Linked DNA regions of Homo sapiens: region 2 is linked to region 1. The links are contacts of gene promoters, found by promoter capture Hi-C in human tissues and cell types (Jung and others, 2019). All regions are on one chromosome and are shown on one strand. The core of a region is centred on a gene start or on the middle of the fragment in contact, and the rest is flanking DNA. Distances in the headings are between cores, read along the strand shown.

Region 1 (2,999 bases), core at 259-2,758:
CCCTCCCTCCGCGGGAAAGTCGGTTAGACGCGGCTCGCGGAAGACACTACTCTCCACTTCTCAGAATGGGTTCAAAGTTGGGGAGGGATGCGGCTGTTGGAGAACAACAGTCCGCTTTCCACTCTCTGGGCCAGGGACTGGGAGGGCGAGAGCGAGAAGTTGGGGAGAGGACGCGCTTCCAGCGCCTGTCCGCCCGGCCGCGCCACAAGGGGCCGAGGGGCATGGGGGCTGCTGGGCGGCAAGGCTTGCGCGGGGTGACCGTGGCTCCGCCCCCAACTCCGGGCTCGTAGTGATTGACGCGCGGCCGCCGGGAAACCAGCCGCGCAGAGGTGAAGCCTGGTGCAGCTCGGGCCAGGGAGGACAGGGCACCGGCCACAACTAGTTTCCACCCAAACGGTGTGGGGTAGTTCCCTTCGTTTCCTTTTCCTTTTTGGAAAAGTTCTTTCGGAGCTGGCCCCATCTCCCTGACCCCGCGAAATCGCCCCTGTGTAATTAACACAGCCATTAGCAGGCGTTACCGCGGCCCGCCGCTGCGCCTCGGGCGACCACAACAAAGCTGGGCTGTGAGCGCCGGCCACTCCTCCTCGCCCGGCAACTTCTTTCTCCCCCACTCTCTCCGTCTTTTCCTCCTGTGCTTCCCAGCTCTGAGTGAGATCCACTTTGGAGACGCACACTAGTCGCGCGCGCGCACGGGCGCGCGGGCGCGCGCGCGCACACACACACACACACACACACACACACACACACACACACGCCTTTGGCTACATCGGACCCAGATGACTGCCTCCTCACTTCCTCCCTCCCGATTCCGCCGCGGCCCCCAAAGACTCTCGGGGTGGCCCCTTGTCCGCACCGCTTGGAGGGAGTGTGCTCTGAGTTAAGCTGGTCTCTTCTGGTCCTGGAAAAAAATGAGTATTGACAAGGTTGCTGGATCTGCGCAGAAAAGAAAGTGCCACTTAATAAAAAATTTAGCCCGGCAGTGGTACCGTCTGCAGAGCTTGCTGCCCTTGGACGTTAGCAGGAAGCCTTCGGGGTGCTGTAATCGGCGGGCAGAGGAGAGGGAGGCCGCGGAATTAAAAGGAACAAAAGCTAGAGCGCCATGCCAAACGTCCCCGGCAAGACCCAGTTAGGCAGGAGCCGGGAGTGATGGGAAAATGAACTAGAAGTAAGTTTTTTTTTTTTTTTAAATGAAAAGATCTGAGGCGGTACCGTACTTTCCCTGTGGTTTTCTGCAGTTTTCCTCTCTGCGCTCTCCCTGTCCTCTTCTCTCTCCCCCTCTCCCTCTCTCCCTGTTCGCGCGCGCGCGCGCGCAACACACACGCGCGCACGCACACACATACACACACACTCACACACACAGACACACTCTCCTTTTCCTCCCCCCCGCCGTCCCCCATCCCCGTGGAGGAGCAGGCTTGCTGATTTGCTCGGGTCCGCCCGGCTCGAGCCTCCCCTCCCCCTCCCGCCCCCCCGCCTCCCCCACCCCCCCAGCCGGGGCTGTCCGATCGCACTCGTTGCATATCAGAGGCTCGGCGCGGCGCGCTCCTCCTCGCTCCCGCTCCCCACTCCCGGGATGTGTCTCCGCCGTACGACGGGCTATGGCCACCACGACTTCCGGGTTCCGTCATTTCGTTCTCCCGCCGCCGACCCGCGCCGCCAAACTGAGGCTCTTCAATAAGCCAGGCAGCAGCCAACCTGCCAACACCTACTGACACTCACTCATCTCCCAGAGAGAGAAAGAGAGCGAGAGAGAGCGAGCGCGAGAGAGCGAGCGCGAGTGAGAGCGAGCGAGCGAGCGAGAAAGAGAGAGAGGGAGAGACAAAATACCTACCAGGAAAGGGGGGGAGGAAGTCCAATTTTTGCAAACTATTCATTTTTTTTTCTTGATTTTTCTCACTGCTTTCTTTGAACAATACTTTAAAGAGAGAGGATCGTATTATAGATACCGCGGGGGCAAAGCTAAAAAAGGGGGGAGGGGGGAGGAAAAAATTCAAGAAGCAGAAACCCCTCGCGGAGTTTTACTGGAAGAAAAAAACGGGTCTGAAAGATTCCTCCTCTTCATCATCATCAACCATCATTCATTCACTACCTTGACATTCCGGGCTTTGATTGACAGCTGGAGTGGCAAAAAGCCATGAAACACGACAGTTCGGTTACATGTGGGCTGCTGACGGGCCGCTCGTAACCTTCAGTTCGGGGGCTTGACAATTTTTTTCTTCTTTTTCTTCTTTTTCTTTTCTTTCTTTTTTTTTCCAACTGAGGGGAAGAGAAGAGAAAGAGGGGGAAAGGAGGACCGAAGAGGAGGAGGAGGGGAGGGGGGAGGAGGAGGAGGTGGAGGAGGAGGAGGAAGATCAGGAGGAGGAGGAAGAAGAGGAAAAAAGAGAAAAAGAAGAAATATCACAGAAAAAAAAATTCTTCGTTGTCTAGACTGGGCTTTTTTTCCCCCCTAAAAAATAGCATATTGGAGAATTGGGAGAAGTCTCTTTGGTTTGGAAAAAAAAAAAAGGAATCTTCAGCCTAGATCACTTTCTTATCCGGACTGGGATATTAAATATACGACACATCCAGGAGTTTATTGGAGCGCAGACTGATGGCGCAAAGGGTAGGTTTAAATCTCCAACACTTACCTAGATATAAATCCTCTCCTAAGAGGGGCCTGTCCCGATGCCTCCTCTCCCTTCAACGCTTCTGCTGCTGCTCGCTGCTTGATGATGGCGGCCAGTATTTTAAAAAATAGCAAAATTATTCATCGGCTTCTTTCCCTCCCGTGCCTCTGCGTGTGTGCGAGTGTGTGTGCGTGCGTGTGTGCGTGTCTGGGCGCGCGTGTTCCAGCGCTGTGCGAGCGGGCGGGCGGCGAGTGCGTGTGAGTGGTGTGTGTGTGTGCGTGTGCAATCGTTACACGCTTTCGCCTCGCTCCAGCTTTTACCCCAGCAGCGCGATTCCCCCGGTTCTCCTGCTGCCGCTGCTGCGCCGCTGCCGCCGTGGCTCGCGCGGCTCGG
Region 2 (2,891 bases), core at 220-2,719, 420 kb after region 1:
AAGCCTAAATACCAATTAGTATTTCATCTTTTCTTCCAATGATGGTTTAACGCCTTTGGATATCATGGTCACTAAAGTCCCAAGCTACATCTCCACAGGGGTTGACCTGCCAGTGTCTTTCCTGAACAATTTCCATATTGCCAGTGGCCTGCAGGAGCCTACTTGCCCTTGCAGTTGGAACTACTCCTCAAGAATTCTAAGCACTAGCCCACTGGCTCTCCCACTGCATAAAAGTGAAATCTAAAGCAGTTTGATCTCATTTGACAATCTGAATAAGAAATATCTTTTAACATTAGGGAATCCTATAGGGACAAATTAAATTATTCTCTCCAACTAGCACATAATCATGTAAGAAATAACTTAGACTAGAGCTATCAAATATAAAAGTATTATGTAAGGACAAGAGGAAGATATCTCCAAAGCATGAGTGTTCAGACTGATCGGAACCTTGTCTCAGGCAACTTGCAGCCTTATAGCCGCTATATGCCACCAATCCTTATCCAACAAGCACACATTCAACAAACATTGAGAAAGCACCTGGTTAATGCTATGAATATACTGAATTCTTCTCCACACTCACACACACAACTTCCAAATCTGGAATTTTTTTTCCTGACTTTCCTTTGGCTAAAACTTTGAGGCCTGGTTCAATGTTTACCTCCTCCATTAAAGCCTTCTCTTATTTTTTTCCAATCCACTTGCCTTCCTCTCCCTCATATTGTGGAATGGAGAGAACTCATATTGTGTATCAATCATTGGGCACTTGATTAAATGTCACTTTGTCAACTGATGACAAGAGATTGATCAGGATGCTGAAATGTTAAATCATGCCACATTAAAAAGGTGTCAATATTTTCTTAATATTGTCTTTAAGTATCTGGGGGTTTTCACATGGAAGTAGATTGAGGCTCATCATGTGGTCACCCCTAAGAAGACAAGAAAGAAATCTCACAAGTTTATTATTGGTGGTGAGGCTACAAGGTTTCAGATTTCAAGCTTGGATTTATGTGGCCCTTATTTAGTCTAAACAGATGATTCTTAACCTTTTCTTTTATTCATTAGGACCCACCTCAGAAGACTTCTTATTTTTTCTTACTTGCTCCCCCCATGAAATTTTAATGCCACAGATATGCTGCATATCTGTTTACACAATCTCACCCCCTTTGAGAATGCATGGTTCACATGGAGGATTAAGGAATTGTTTTTGTCAGGGTATTTGGCAAGCTGCTTAAAAGCAGAAAGCTTATTTGTTACCACTCCAAAGCCACTTTGCACAAAATAGCTACTCAACAAACTGCTGAATAAATACATTTATGAACACACTGCCAAAGGAAAGAGAAGACTACTCTTTCTCATAGGATACAATGGATCTTGAGGTAAACCGTGAAAACATCTAATGACTCATCTCCCAAAGAGGACTGCTTATCACTGGTATAGGTATGTGAAGTGACCTTACTAGCACACATTTTTGTTGTTGTTGTTAACAGTTATATAGTACTTTTATAAATAGTTTAAACTTACGGTAAGAGATTCCATGGTATTACCTCCTCCCTCCTGGATTTTCCTCCAATTCATATATTAGCAATTAAAGTTTCAAGCTAGTGCTCCATGCAGAGCAAATATAGGGCCACATAATGAAGGGAAGCCCTCTTCTGGGCTCACTGGGGCCCAACATGAGAGGTGAGATACAGGTAAAGCGAAAACTCCCATTCAAGATCAGAGGAGAAAGTTCATGGCAGCAAAGACCTACCGAAATTTACTGGGGTATCCAGAAAGCCTGATGAGATCAAATGTCTTATAGTCTATGAAAAGAAAGAAAACTGGATGCTTCTAAAGGTGATACCACAGTGGCTACTGGTATGACCAAGTCTGTATTATTCAATGAGACAAGGGCAAGTCTCTGCTTTGCAAGTTGATGACTTCAAGAAGCCTCTCTAATAATTCCCTCTGGTAGCCTGCTCATTTATGTCTCTTGTGTTTCCAATTGCTGGCAAAGGCCCATACAACATCATGGTGTCTGCCTCAGTGCATAATTAGAAAGCAGTTAATTCTAAGTCATTAAAAATGTTGCCCAGGATTGGAAGTATTCAAGGAAAGGGGGCACAAAAGTGTGTTCTTTTTCGGCAGGCTCCCGAATCTAACGGGAAAGAACAACCTAAACTTTATATCTTAAATTGTAGGAGAGGGATAGGTAGGTGAGCAGAGGCGAAATTTCAAGGCATGTTAAACGATATGAAAATTCAAACACTTTTAGTATGCTGAAAGAAACATTTCCTGGGAACTAAACCCATGTGACTAATTACAGCCAGGGACAGTGCTTCTATTCAGAAATAACTTTCGTCTAATTCTCCTGAGAAAAATCTCAACAACTTTCAAGGAAAACACCGCTATTCAATTTCTGCCCATTATCCAACACAGAGATCTATCTTTCTTGCACTTTATTAGGTACCAAAAAAAAAGTCAAAATTCTATGTGTCAAACAACCTATGCAACGAAGGCGAGGTACAGGTCAGCTTCATTTTAAGGAGAGACAAATACCATAAAAATATCCTACCAGGTTAACATATTTTTGCAGCGGTTTCAAGATTCTCTTGAGTTTTCAAGAAAGCTTACATTTTGGTCCCTCAAGCAAATGAGCTATTCATTTAAATGAACAAGTTAGTAGCCTGATCTAAAAATAGTTGTACAATTAACAGTGTACTATATAATTAAAATCCGTATATCATTAAATGATGCGGATGTTAACTTCACTATGAATTCTTTATGTAATGAGACAGTTAAAAGATACATTTCTTCAGTTGTAATTAATCTTTCAGCAAGGCCGCTGAGCACAATGGCAGCACAATGCTGTGCCAAAGTGAGAGATAGAGTTTACAAAAAGACATGCTGCA

What was found. The method cuts DNA at HindIII sites, captures the fragments that hold promoters and counts their contacts. A contact is called where the count stands out against the background at its distance.
Region 2: a contact is called between a fragment that was not itself captured here and the fragment with the promoter of MEIS2 in region 1, in 1 of the 25 tissues and cell types used here (heart left ventricle).

The regions. Positions count from the first base shown.
Region 1 is chr15:37,099,058-37,102,056 of GRCh38, reverse strand. MEIS2 (Meis homeobox 2) reads left to right here and starts at 1,508. Exons shown (of 12, transcript NM_170675.5): 1 at 1,508-2,602. The coding sequence starts at 2,591. LOC124903465 (a long non-coding RNA gene) reads right to left here and starts at 2,809. Exons shown (of 2, transcript XR_007064581.1): 1 at 2,628-2,809; 2 at 1-2,256. RefSeq lists silencers at 138-277, 2,727-2,786, 2,937-2,999 and enhancers at 978-1,257, 1,508-1,667. The HindIII fragment of the contact is 11,980 bases long and covers 1-2,999 here.
Region 2 is chr15:36,675,518-36,678,408 of GRCh38, reverse strand. All of the region lies in intron 5 of CDIN1 (CDAN1 interacting nuclease 1), which reads right to left. It overlaps LOC124903466 (a long non-coding RNA gene), which reads left to right. Exons shown (of 3, transcript XR_007064582.1): 1 at 1-2,891. Among named protein-coding and RNA genes, the nearest start is that of CDIN1, 97 kb to the right of the region's middle. The HindIII fragment of the contact is 3,601 bases long and covers 1-2,891 here.